Linked DNA regions of Homo sapiens: all the other regions are linked to region 1. Evidence: promoter capture Hi-C in 16 types of primary human blood cells and fetal thymus (Javierre and others, 2016). All regions are on one chromosome and are shown on one strand. Each heading gives the region's core, a stretch centred on a gene start or on the middle of the fragment in contact. The rest is flanking DNA. Distances are from core to core; before and after follow the strand shown.

What was found. The method cuts DNA at HindIII sites, captures the fragments that hold promoters and counts their contacts. A CHiCAGO score of 5 or more calls a contact.
Region 2: a contact is called between a fragment that was not itself captured here and the fragment with the promoter of MSH2 in region 1, in 2 of 17 cell types (fetal thymus and naive B cells). The highest score is 6.4, in fetal thymus.
Region 3: a contact is called between a fragment that was not itself captured here and the fragment with the promoter of MSH2 in region 1, in 1 of 17 cell types (erythroblasts). The highest score is 5.5, in erythroblasts.

What each region holds. Positions count from the first base shown.
Region 1 is chr2:47,401,043-47,405,543 of GRCh38, forward strand. MSH2 (mutS homolog 2) reads left to right here and starts at 2,114. Exons shown (of 16, transcript NM_000251.3): 1 at 2,114-2,360. The coding sequence starts at 2,150. RefSeq lists enhancers at 1,801-1,850, 1,855-2,565, 2,566-3,274, 2,641-2,700. The HindIII fragment of the contact is 10,707 bases long and covers 1-4,501 here.
Region 2 is chr2:47,785,173-47,789,482 of GRCh38, forward strand. All of the region lies in intron 1 of MSH6 (mutS homolog 6), which reads left to right. Among named protein-coding and RNA genes, the nearest start is that of MSH6, 4.2 kb to the left of the region's middle. The HindIII fragment of the contact is 1,423 bases long and covers 970-2,392 here.
Region 3 is chr2:46,949,819-46,954,434 of GRCh38, forward strand. TTC7A (tetratricopeptide repeat domain 7A) reads left to right here. Exons shown (of 20, transcript NM_020458.4): 2 at 545-708. Among named protein-coding and RNA genes, the nearest start is that of TTC7A, 11 kb to the left of the region's middle. The HindIII fragment of the contact is 1,309 bases long and covers 2,493-3,801 here.

The DNA.
Region 1 (4,501 bases), core at 864-3,363:
CAGAGCCAGACTTCCTCTCAAAAAAACAAACAAAGGTTCCAAGGCTCTACTCCAGAAATTAAGACCCATTATGTGTGGGCTGGGCACAGGAATATGTTTAAATCCCCCCCCACCTCCCCAGGGTGATTCTGCTGCTGAATTAGGTTTTGGAACCACTTCCATGGGGAAAGGGTAAACTAAACTGGAGAATGCAAAAACCTTTTTTTTTTTTTTTTTTTTTTTTGAGACAGAGTCTCACCCTGTTGCCCAGGCTGGAGTGCAATGGCGCGACCTCGGCTCACTGCAACCTCCACCTCCCAGGTTCAAGGGATTCTCCTGCCTCAGCCTCCCAAGTAGCTGGGATTACAGGTGCCCACCACTACACCCGGCTAATTTTGTGTGTGTTTTTAGTAGAGACGGAGGTTCACCATGTTAGTCAGGCTGGTCTCGAACTCCTGACCTCAGGTGATCTGCCCGCCTCGGCCTCCCAAAGTGCTGGGATTACAGGCGTGAGCCACCGCGCCCGGCCAGCAAAAACCTTTTCTAAGAGTTAATTTTGCAGGATGGATCCTGAGCTCCTTCAGGTGTTTGATAACATTTTATTTATTTTTTGAGACAGAGTCTCGCTCTGTCACCGAGGCTGGAGTGTAGTGGCGCGATCTTCGCTCACTGCCCCCTCCACCTCCCAGGTTCAAGAGATTCTCCTGCCTCAGCCTCTCGAGTAGCTGTGATTACAGGCGCCCACCACTATGCCCGGTAATTTTTGTATTTTTAGTAGAGACGGGGTTTCGCCATGTTGGCCAGGCTGGTCTCAAACTCCGGACCTCAGGTGATCCACCCGCGTTGGCCTCCCAATACGCTGGGATTACAGGCGTGAGCCACTGCGCCTGGCTGTTTGCTAACATTTTAAAATTTCAACCTTCCTCTTCCTTAACTGGTCTTCCCCTACCCCCCCTCAAGACGGGGTCTCTCGCTCTGTCGCCCCAGCTGCGGTGCAGTGGCGTGAACATAGCTGACGGCAGAAGACCTCCTGGGCTCAAACGATCCTCCTGGCTCGTGCTCCCAAAGTACTGGGATTATGGCGTGTGACACCACGCCTGGCGTCAAACGTTTGTCTTTTTATTTATTTTATTTTGTATTTTTTGAGACAGGGTTTTCAATCTGTCGCCCACGCTGGAGTGCAGTGGCACAATTTACGGCTCACCGCAGCCTCGACCTCCCGGGCTCAGGTGATCCTTTCGCCTCAGCCCTGCTAATATCTGGGATCACAGACGTGGGTTTTACCATGTTGCCCAGGATGGTGTCAATCTCCTGGGCTCAAGTGATCCGCCCACCTCGGCCTCCCAAATTGCTGGGATTACAGGCGTGAGCTACCGCGCCCTGCCACAAACGCATATCTTCTAACGTACCATTTCATTTACTTGCTATATTCATTATCTGAATTTTCTCATATTAGAATGTAAGCAGAATAAAGGCAGTGATTTTTCTTTTTACTGGCGATCCTCAGAGCCAAGAAGAGTCTGGGACATAGCAGGCCATATAAATGTTTTCGAATGAGTGAATCATCAACGAGTGGATGAAACGATAATGTGGCTAACAGGCAGCAGTAAGGAGGCTGTGTAGAATAAACCCGTAATCCCGATGTTGGCAGTTTGCTTAGAAAGAAAAAGGGAGGCAGTCGGAGAGGGGCACACGTTTTAACAAAATACTGGGAGGAGGAGGAAGGCTAGTTTTTTTTTTGTTTTCAAGTTTCCTTCTGATGTTACTCCCATGCTTCCGGGCACATTACGAGCTCAGTGCCTGCCGGAAATCTCCCACCTGGTGGCAACCTACCCTTGCATACACCCCACCCAGGGGCTTCAAGCCTTGCAGCTGAGTAAACACAGAAAGGAGCTCTACTAAGGATGCGCGTCTGCGGGTTTCCGCGCGACCTAGGCGCAGGCATGCGCAGTAGCTAAAGTCACCAGCGTGCGCGGGAAGCTGGGCCGCGTCTGCTTATGATTGGTTGCCGCGGCAGACTCCCACCCACCGAAACGCAGCCCTGGAAGCTGATTGGGTGTGGTCGCCGTGGCCGGACGCCGCTCGGGGGACGTGGGAGGGGAGGCGGGAAACAGCTTAGTGGGTGTGGGGTCGCGCATTTTCTTCAACCAGGAGGTGAGGAGGTTTCGACATGGCGGTGCAGCCGAAGGAGACGCTGCAGTTGGAGAGCGCGGCCGAGGTCGGCTTCGTGCGCTTCTTTCAGGGCATGCCGGAGAAGCCGACCACCACAGTGCGCCTTTTCGACCGGGGCGACTTCTATACGGCGCACGGCGAGGACGCGCTGCTGGCCGCCCGGGAGGTGTTCAAGACCCAGGGGGTGATCAAGTACATGGGGCCGGCAGGTGAGGGCCGGGACGGCGCGTGCTGGGGAGGGACCCGGGGCCTTGTGGCGCGGCTCCTTTCCCGCCTCAGAGAGTGGGCGGTGAGCAGCCTCTCCAGTGCGGAGGCACGGGGGCGGAACGTTGGTGCTTGTGCGGATTCCGCCGTCCCCAGGTTCTGCTTGGCTCCGGAGGGACGCCCCCCTCAGCCCTGAAACCCGTGCCTCTCCAGCCGCCCCGGATCTGAACTTGTGATCACGGAGTGTTTACGTCGTGCCAGGCATTTTAATGCATTGTTCTAGTTCATTTTCCAGCAGTCGCATTCCTCGCCTTGGCCCTACATGTAGCGCTCATTACAAACACGGCCAGAATCTCTTATTAACAAACAGCAGCCAGGAGTGAGATTTAAAATAGACTGGGGGTTTAGGAGACCCTTTTATGACACGTAATTCTGCTCCCACGACGCTCCCATTTATACCGCCGGTCCAGCTAAGGGTCTGGTAATGGAGCGCCGTTGAAGAGCAGTATGATGAAGTGGTCAGGACCAACGGACTCTGGAGCTGGGCTGCTTGGGATCAAGTCGCTGCCCCTCTGCTTATTAACGTGTGACCTTGGGCCAGTCATGGACGCTATCTGCTTCAGCTCAGCATTCAGTGCTCTCCGTCACCCGACCCCATCTATCCAGGATTATCTCTCCCTGGAAAGCTACAAACGTCTCACCCTATGTGGGCCAAATGTTCTGGATAGGCCTAGTTAACCTCTTCTCTCCCTGTTTTCTTTGCGCTTTCTTGCAGCTATGTAGTTATGCTAATGAAAAGAGCATCCTAGGGGGAGCAGAGTTGTGGATTCTAGTCCTGACTAGAGGACTAGTGCAAATGCGATACTCCTGATGAAAAATGTTTCATTCGTTAGATATAAATGTGTTAGGCAGGGTTATGGACACTAGATGAAAAAAGAAATACCTCTACTTTCATAGAGATCACTATTGGACAGCAAGGCAGAAATAATTACAATTCAAGTTGGAGGCTTATGGAGGTGAGCTTGTAAGAGGTTACAAGAGGCGCCAAGGCAGGATCGCCAAAGACGGAAGACTTTGGAAGAGTCTCATACAACGGAAGAGGCGTTATATGAGACACCAAAGTCCACGTTGAGTCTTGGTGGACTAGAAGTTTGCTAGGGAGAGGGCTTGAAACGAGGTAGATTGGCGTTGCTGGTGTAGAAAAGGAAGGAGACTGGCCCAGGTGGGTGGGGTTAGATGACCAAAGGCTTTTAGTGTGGTGTTGAGCTGTTGAAATTTTATGCTGTAGCCAATGAAAAGTCTGAAATGTTTTTTTTTTTTTTTTTTCTGAGACGGAGTCTTACTGTGTCGCCCAGGTTGGAGTTCAGTGGTGTAATCCTGGCTCACTGCAACCTCCACCTCCTGGGTTCAAGCGATTCTCCTGCCTCAGCCACCGGAGTAGCTGGGATTACAGGCACGTGCCACCACGCCTAGCTAATTTTTGTATTTTTAGTAGAGATGGGGTTTCACCATGTTGGCCAGGCTGGTCTCAAACTCCTGACCTCAAGTGATCCACCCACCTTGGCCTCCCGATGTGCTGGGATTACAGGTATTAGCCACTGCACCTGACCTACATAGATTTTACATAAGACTTTAAAACAGGGCGGGCGCAGTGACTCACGCTTGTAATCCCAGCACTTTGGGAGGCTGAGGTGGGCGGATCACAAGGTCAGGAGATCAAGACCATCCTGGCTAACATGGTGAAACCCTGTCTACACTAAAAATACAAAAATCCCAGCACTTTGGGAGGCTGAGGTGGGCGGATCACGAGGTCAGGAGATCCAGACCATCCTGGTTAACACTGTGAAACCCTGTCTCTACTAAAAATACAAAAAATTAGCTGGGTGCGGTGGCAGGTGTCTGTAGTCCCAGCTACTTGGGAGGCTGAGGCAGGAGAATGGTGTGAACCCGGAAGGCAGAGCTTGCAGTGAGCCGAGATTGTGCCACTGCACTCCAGCCTGGGCAACAGAGCGAGACTCCATCTCAAAAAAAAAAAAAAAAAAAAAAAAGACTTTAAAAAAAATTATAAGAAAGGACAGACCAAGTGCAGTGGTTCGTTCCAGCACTTAGGGATGCCAAGGTGGGAGGATTGCTTGATGCTAGGAGT
Region 2 (4,310 bases), core at 431-2,930, 380 kb after region 1:
AGAAATAAAGGCTCAGAAAAAATAACTCATTCAAGATAAGAGCCAGTTCGTGTTTTTTGTTTGGTTTTGTTTTGAAATGGAGTCTCGCTCTGTCGCCCAGGCTGGAGTGCTGTGGCGCTTTCTCGGCTCACTGCAACCTCTGCCCGCCGGGTTCAAGTGATTCTCCTGCCTCAGCTTCCCGAGTAGCTGGGATTACGGGTGTGCCCACCGCGGTCCGGCTGATTTTTCACCATGGAGTTTCACCATGTTGGCCAGGCTGGTCTTGAAACTGCTGACCTCAAGTGGTCCACCCACTTCAGCCTCCCAAAGTGCTGGGATTACAGGTGTGAGCCACCGTGCCCGGCCGCTAGTTAGTGGTTTTGAGTAATGGATTTCAAATCCATTTAAATCCAGTTTAAAGTGTCCTAAAGGAATTCTGAGATTTTTCTAAGTGTAATTATAGTGTTACCCTTGTTTAAGCGACCCTTTCCCGCAGTTTAAATATATATAGTTGTGCATTAGTAGAATATGCTTGTGGGGAACAGAGCCAGCATCCGCAATAACAAACTCCTGGTTAGAAAAGCATGACGTATTGTTTACTTGAGCATGAATTGATTGTTGAATCCAAACCAAACGGGTGTATTTATTGTAAGGATGTACTTTACATTCATATTGAATAGCGTATGTTATTTGTTTCTTGAGGTTGAGTTTAAGAGACTTGTAAAAATAAAACGTATACATTTCACCTCCCGTTATGGAGAGGATTCCAGGGTATTCAAGAAAGATGGGCATTTGATACTAGGTTTCTAAAGAAACTGCAGTGTCTAGATCACTCTGCCGAGCACAGCATTAGGCATTATGGATCCTGGATACAACCATGAACAGGACAAAGCAAAGAGGCAATTGTAGACTCCAAGTGGAAAGGGGACGGAGAGGATGCGGGTCAGGCTAGGCTCTCAGCTCTGTAAACCGAAACCAGAAGGACAAATAAGCTTAGACAGATTATAGTGAGAGTGGGAAGCTGGTTCAGGAAGAGGAAGGTCTGCAAATTGTGGGTAGGATGAAAGGAGGAGGAGGGAGCATTGGAGAAGTTAAGCAGAGATCCAATCATGAACAGTCTGATGAGCTACAGAGACATTCGGACTTACTCCATGAATCATTTAAGCCTTAAAACATGTTGAGCGTATTTTTTTTTTTTTTGAGACGGAATTTCACTCTTGTTGCCCAAGCTGGAGTGCAGTGGTGTGGTCTCAGCTCACTGCAACCTCCGCCTCCTGGGTTCCAGCGATTCTCCTGCCTCATCCTCTCAAGTACCTGGTATTACAGGTGCCTGCCACCACGCCCAGCTAATTTTTGTGTTTATAGTAGAGACGGGTTTCACCATGTTGGTCAGGCCAGTCGTGAACTCCTGACCTCAGGTGATCCACCCACCTCAGCCTCCCAAAGTGTTGGGATTACAGGCGTGAACCACCGCACCTGGCCGTGAGCCACCGTGTCTGTCCGAGCATCTTTTAATGTTTGTCATTTAGATTTCTTCTTGTGCTGAAGTGTTTGTCTTTTGCTGTTTCTTTTTTTTTTCCTAGTTCTTTGTCATTTGTGTGTGATATAAATGTCTTCTTTCACAATGAGTTCTTTCATTTAGTTTATGGCTTTGTTGTTGTTGTTGAATAATAGAGGTCTCACTTTGTTGCCCAGGCTGGTGTTGAACTCTTGCTCTCAAGCGATCCTCCCACTTCAGCCTCCCAACCTGTTGGGATTACAAGTGTGAGCCACCACACCCAGCCTTATGGCATCTTTCGATGAACAAATTATTGATTATAATGTGGAATTTGTCCTTTTATTTTCTCTGTGGTTAGTGTTTCTATAGGTTTTATTTAAGAAATCCACAGGGAGGCTGGGTGCAGTGGCTCATGCCTGTAAACCCAACACTTTGGGAGGCCAAGGCAGGCCAACATGGCTAGACCCTGTCTCTCCAAAAAATAAGAAAATTAGCCAGGCATGGTGGCGTGTGCCTGTAGTCCCAGCTTCTTGGGAGACTGAGATGGGAGGATCGCTTGAGTCCAGGAGGTTGAGGCTGCAGTAAGCCAAGAGATCATGCCATGCACTCCAGCCTGGGTGGCAGAGTCAGACCCTGTCTGCCAAAAAATAAAATAAAAGTTGGTGAAAATGTTGATTATATATTTTAGGAACAACTAGTAATTGACATCAAAATTATGGGCTAAAGAGAAAGCAAAAATAATGTGATTTTAAACCAGAATTCAAAAGATCTGTTTAGCGTATGTTTAGACAAAGCCATTACTTATTATATCAAAGTTTTAACATTTATTTTGTGAGCTGTCAGCTTTTCCTCTTAACATTTTTCCCCACCGTCTTAAAAAACCCCAAGAATACCGGACATTTAAGACTCACTTAAAGCTTTAAAAGCACTTGCAAAATCCTAAAATCATAATTTAAGGTGTTTTTGGAGGGCAGGAGCAATGGTGGCAGGCAGTGTTTTGCTTTGTTGCCCAGGCTGAAGTACAGTGGCAGATCTCGGTTCACTGCACCCTCGACCTATTCGGCTCAAGTGATCCTCCCACCTCAGCTTTCTGAGTAGCTGGGACCCCAAGTGCACACCACCCCATGCCTGGCTAATTTTTAAATTTTTTTGTAGAAACAAGGTCTCACTGTGTAGCCCAGATGGTCTCGAATTCCTGGGCTCTTAAGAGATCCTCCCAAAGTGCTGGGATCATAGGTGTGAGCCACCACACCTGGCCTATTTTGGCATTCTTGAAAACCGCAGGATTACCACGGATAAAATTTTAAAATTACCTTTAAAGAATTCAGGTTTACACACAAAAAAAATTTGGTTTGTTAGCAGTGAGTGAAGAAAAATTTTGAGAAATGTTTAAAATTTTTAGTTTTGTTACACAATACATTTTACTACCTGTTTAATTATCTTTTTTGACTCAGAAACCAGTTTCCTGGGTCCAGGATGTTTAGTGGTACTCTTTTTCTTCAAGCTTTTTAGCATTGGAGGAACTGCATATTAGTAAAATTTTTAGTCTTAGCATTTTATAGCTTACTGCTATTTCTTTTCTTTCATTCTTTCTTTCTTTTTTTTTTTTTTTTTTTTTTTTTTGAGATGGAGTCTCGCCCTGTCACCCAGGCTGGAGTGCAGTGGCACGATCTCGGCTTACTGCAACCTCTGCCTTCCAGGTTCAAATGATTCTCCTGCTTCAGCCTCCCGAGTAGCTGGGATTACAGATGCCCGCCACCATGCCCAGCTAATTTTTATTTTTTTAGTAGAGATGGGGTTTCACCATGTTGGCCAGGCCAGTCTCGAACTCCTGACCTCGTGATCAACCCGCCTTGGCCTTTCAAAGTGCTGGGATTACAGGCGTGAGCCACCGTGCCCAGCCTTTTTCTTTTTCTTTTTCTTTTTTTTTTTTTTTTTGAGACGGAGTCTTGCTCTGTTACCCAGGCTGGAGTGTAGTGGCATGATCTGGGCTCACTGCAACCTCCACCTCCCGGGTTCAAGGGAGTCTCCTGCTTCAGCCTCCCGAGTAGCTGGGATTACAGGCGCCTGCCACCATGCCCAGCTAATTTTTGTATTTTTTTAGTAGAGATGGGGTTTCGCCATGTTGGCCAGGCTGGTCTTGAACTCCTGACCTCAGGTGATCTGCCTGCCTCGTCCTCCCAAAATGCTGGGATTATAGGAGTGAGCCACTGCGCCCGGCCCAGCATACTGCTATTTCTTTCTTTCTTTCTTCTTCCTTTTTTTTTTTTTTGTTTTTTTTTTTTTTTTTTTTTTTTTGTGAGACGGAGTCTGTCGTCCAGGCTGGAATGCAGTGGCGTTTTCTTGGCTCACTGCAACCTCTGCTGCCCGGGTTCAAGTGATTCTCCTGCTTCAGGCTCCCAAGTAGCTGGGATTATAGGCCTCTGCCACTGCACTTGGCTAATTTTTGTATTTTTGGTAGAGACGGGGTTTCACCATCTTGGCCAGGCTGGTCTTGAACTCCTGACCTCGTGATCCACCTGCCTTGGCCTCCCAAAGTGCTGGGATTACAGACCTGAGCCACCGCACCCGGCCCATACTGCTATTTCTTAACAGCAGAGAAATTATGTGTCAGATTCTGTAAGTGTAATGGTATATAAAGGATAAAATGATGTTGAAAAACAAAATTTTTTGTTTAAATGCTTATGTTTCTAATATTTTATTTCAGAAAGGAATTTATTTCAAAACTGATAATGGTTGGATCCAGCTTTTCACACAAACTTTTTTTTCCTAGTGAGGATGCACATTTATCCTGTAAACAAATGGAAGACATTATTTTTTTAATTGCTTGCTT
Region 3 (4,616 bases), core at 1,897-4,396, 450 kb before region 1:
AGTGCCATGATCATGCCAGTGCACTCCAGCTAGGGTGGCAGAGTGAGACTCTGTTTAAAACAAACAAACAAACAAAAACACTTAAAAATGGGGAAAACCAATTATGGTTACATAGAAATTAGGAGCATGTAAAAGTACATTATTAAACCACTTCATGTATTTTTTCTCTTCAATCATTTGGGGAGAATTCTTCTTGGTTTAAGAACTTATTATCCACAGCACAGCATATGTATGACTTTGTCCCTTATTTTAAATTCTGAAATTCTGGGAATTTGTCCCCGAGTCCTGGGAACTCTGTCTTCCCAACCATTAAACTACAGCAGAAAATAAATCCAAGGGGCAATTTGTATTGTGACCATAGTAGAATGCCTGTGTCTTTTCTTTAAAGGCTGTTGAAATTTATGAAAAATGTGCCTTTATTTTCTCAGACCTGAGCCATTCATGTACTGGGTATGGGTGGTTGGGTGGGTCCAGGAGTGTGCAACTCCCTCCATTATCCGCCTTGTTCGGGGTTTGCTGCTCTGACCCCTACTTTGCTTTTCAGATGACTTTGGGAAATTGCTGCTGGCTGAGGCCCTCCTGGAGCAGTGTTTGAAGGAGAACCATGCCAAAATAAAAGACTCCATGCCTTTGCTGGAGAAGAATGAGCCGAAGATGAGCGAAGCCAAAAATTATCTAAGCAGTATCCTTAACCATGGGAGGCTCTCGGTAAGTCGTCAGCCTTCAAGCCTGAGACCTCCTCTCCTCGTCTGTCTTGCCTCGCATCTGTCCAGTCCTCCCTGAGTCATTTGGTCACCTGAGCAACAAGTCTCTCTTACAAGCTGCCCTTGCACTTACAGTAGCCACTGGCTGCACATGGCCCCTTGAGCACTTGGAGTATGGCTAGTCCACATTGAGATGTGCTGTAAGTATAAAGCATACACAAGGTTTCAAAGACTTAGTACAAAACAAAGAATAGAAAAGAGCAGTAACTTTTTATGTTGATTACATGTTCAGATGGTATATTTTGGATATATTGGGTTAAATAAAACATGTTATTAAAATTAATTTCACCTTTTACCTTTTTCAGTGTGACTAAAAAAAATCTTAGTAGAAATTTTTAAATTACACATGTGGTTCACATTTGTGGCTTACATCATATTTTTTTGGACAGTGCTTGGTTGACTTAATATGTGCCTGGCCCTTTGGGCTCCTTGGGTCAGGGGGCTCTCAGGAAAATAAAACCTCAGTGAACCTGTGACCTAGTTAGAAACAGGCAAACATGCAGAGTTGGCTAGGGACAGAAGAGCTCCATAACAGGGCAAGCCCATTTAAGTCCACGTGTATTTATCAAGCACCTACTGAGTACAAGACACTGAGGGAGGTAGAGGACCCACCTCTCCCTCCCAGAAGGAGTATGGTCACAACTTTCTCTGGACTTTGCTGCTCAAAATGTGGTCCACCCACCAGCAGTGTAGGCATCATTGGGGAGCTGGTTAGAAATGCAATTAAGAGAAAAAAAAAAAGAAATGCAATTAAGAATTAGAATCTGTGTTTTAACAAGCTCTCCTGGGTGATTCATATGTGCATCCAAGTTTGAGGCTGTGGCTGTGTTAGATTACAATGTATCCTGAACTATAATAGTGGCATGGGTATGTCATTAGAAACTCAAAAGAGGAGGGGGAGGGGGTAAAAAAAAACTCAAAGAGGAAGTGATCCCTCCCTCCCTCCCTTCCTTCCTTGCTTCCTTCCCCTCTGTCTCTCTCTTTCTTTCTGTCTTTCTGTCTGTCTTTATTTTCTTCAGGGTCTCGCTGTGTTACTCAGGCTGGTCTCCAACTCCTGGGCTCAAGCGATCCTCCTACTTCAGCCTCCCGAAGCGTTGGGATTACAGGAGTGAGGCACTGCGCCCAGCTGATTTTTAAAGAGCTATTCCAAAGTAATATATTCACTTCCTTAAACCTTTTATTCCAACGTACTGTGTGCAAGGCATTGTGTTGTGCACTCTGAAGGCAATCAAGACGAATCCAGCATGGACCCTGCCCTCAAGGAGGTTGCAGGTCTCTTGGGAAGATAAGTCCTATCAGCAAGTAAATAGCCTTCCTCCAAGGTAGACCGTGATAGGAGTGCTATCCACGAGGAAGCAAGTCTGAGGGGGATGCTCTTTGGGGATAAGCAGAGAGCAGACTCTGAGTAATGGCAGTACTAGAATTGGATCCTTCTGGGGCTGGATCTAGACAAGGTTGTAAAGGTACTTTGGGGCTAGTAAGGGCAGACTGGAACACCAGGCCAGGATGTGCAGGGCTTATTTTGTAAGGGAGGGAAAGGCCAGGGGAGAGGGGAGTGTGTACTAGAAGTTTAAGGTTACTGCTTTTAGGCTCCTTGACAGGTATTGTAGCACTGGGAGGTTTGTATTGGGTTAAAATAGCTGCCTGACCCTGAGCATGCTTGACCCCACAGACCTTCCAGTTTCTCATCTGCTGGTCAAAAGGGTTGGACCAGATTGGTGGGGTTCAAGCTTTTCCCACCAAGACCGCTTTTCGTTTTAAAAATATTAAATTAATAATTAAATGTTAAATTAAATATTTAAAAATTGTTTTTAAAATAAACATGATTCAGCCTTATTGTAAAAATTCCAGTCAACAAATAAGTAATTTGAGTGATAAATAAAAGTCCCAGCTGGCCTATGGCTCACGCCTGTAGTCTTAGCACTTTGGGAGGCTAAGGTGGGAGGATTGCTTGAGCCAGAAGTTTGAGATCAGACTGGGCAACATGGTGAGACCCCATCTCTACAGAAAATTTTTTTAATTAGCTAGGCGTGGTGGCTTGCACCTGTGGTCCCAGCTACCCAAGAAGCTGCGGCTGGAGGGTCACTTGAGCCTAGGAGGTTGGGGCTGCAGTGAGTTGTGTTCATGCCACTGCACTCCAGCCTGGGTGACAGAGCAAGATCCTGTCTCACACACACAAAAAAAGTTCTTGTTTTCCAACCTCACCCTCATGCCCACACCCATCCTCAGAGTTGAGCACTGGTCAGTATTTGATGTGCATCTCCTATGCCTTTCTTTGTGCATTTACAAACATATATACACACAGATATTTCTTTTCATAGAGTTGTAAGATATATATTTTTCACCAAGAAGTTTTATTTAGAGCTTTCTCCATGCCAGTATTGTCTCATTCTTTGTATTGGCTGAATAGTAACCACATGTATTGTGACAACGGTTTTATTAAATACAAATTGTACCATATTTTGTTAAACAAAGACATATATAGGCACCAATAATGTGCAGAAATTTACTGTTATCCAGGCCAGAGCCAAAAACTTAATGATGATCTGTAAAATAATATATTAAATGTCGTTTGTGGGATTCTTTTTTGAGACAGGGTCTCACTCTGTCACCCAGGCTGGAGTGCAGTGGCGTGAACATGGCTCACTGCAGACTGGACCTCCTGGGCTCAAGTGATCATCCTGCTTCAGCCTCCTGAGTAGCTGGGACTATAGGCATGCACCACCACACCCAGCTAATTTTTAAATTTTTTTGTAGAGACAAAGTCTTGTCATATTGCTCAGGCTGGTCTTAAACTCCTGGGATCAAGCAGTCCTGTCACCTGTGCCTCCCAAAGTGCTAGGATTACAGGCGTGAGCCACCATGCCCGGCCATCATTTGTAGTATTTTCTATCTCACCCGCAAAGATCAGGTCACAGTTGGCGTGACCTTTCTTGGCAGCTGATGCAGTCTCAGGTGGATTCCTGTGCATCCAAGTAGCTCTGCTGGATGAGAAGGAGAGCTGGGAGAGGTGGGTCCTGAGGCCCCTCCTTGGGAAAGCTTGAAACCCTTTCCTCTTGGTTATCTCTCTAAGACCCCGTCCAGCTCAGTTGTGTGGAGATCAGTGAAAACAAGCCACTTGTCCTAAACTCTGTTCTGCTACTAGGTTGAGGCTTTGCACCATCGCATGCAGGCCTCCAAGGAACCTTCTGCAACGGTATTTACTATTAGCCCCATTTCTTTTTCTTTCTTTCTTTCTTTTTTTTTTTTTTCAATTTTTTGTAGAGACACAGTTCTTACTGTGTTTCTCAGGCTGGTCTCAGATTCTGGGTTTCAAGCGATCCTCTTGCCTTGGTCTCCCAAAGTGCTGGGATTACAGGTGTGAGCCACTGTGCCCTGCCAAGCTCCATCTCTTGAGACCCAAGAAAGGTGATCACAACCCAGGCCTTTAGTGTCTACAGCCCATGCTCTAATGCTGTCTCTCATTTCTTGGTACTGCCTCCCAGAGTACTGGGGTGGAAATAAAATAATGACTGGGAAAGTTGGATTCATGTGAAAGATGGTGATCACACCCCCACTTTTATAGTTCCCACGTTAGTCTGTGAAGTATTTCCTCATCCGTTCTTTCCTCATACCTGGATATCTCCATGAAGTCCTTTTTCCCCTTTTATTGACAGGGACAGTGAGGCACAAAAGGAGTAGGTGATGCGCTGATCCACACAGTAGAGGGGATTGTTCCTCTGGTAAAGCGACCTCCCCCGTGGCACCCTCCCACTGGGCAAGGGGTTCCGTTCCCTGACTGTTGTACTGATAGACCAAGAATATTTCACATTCAAATGCATGGGCCCCACAGAGTGCAGTGGACTCTTAATG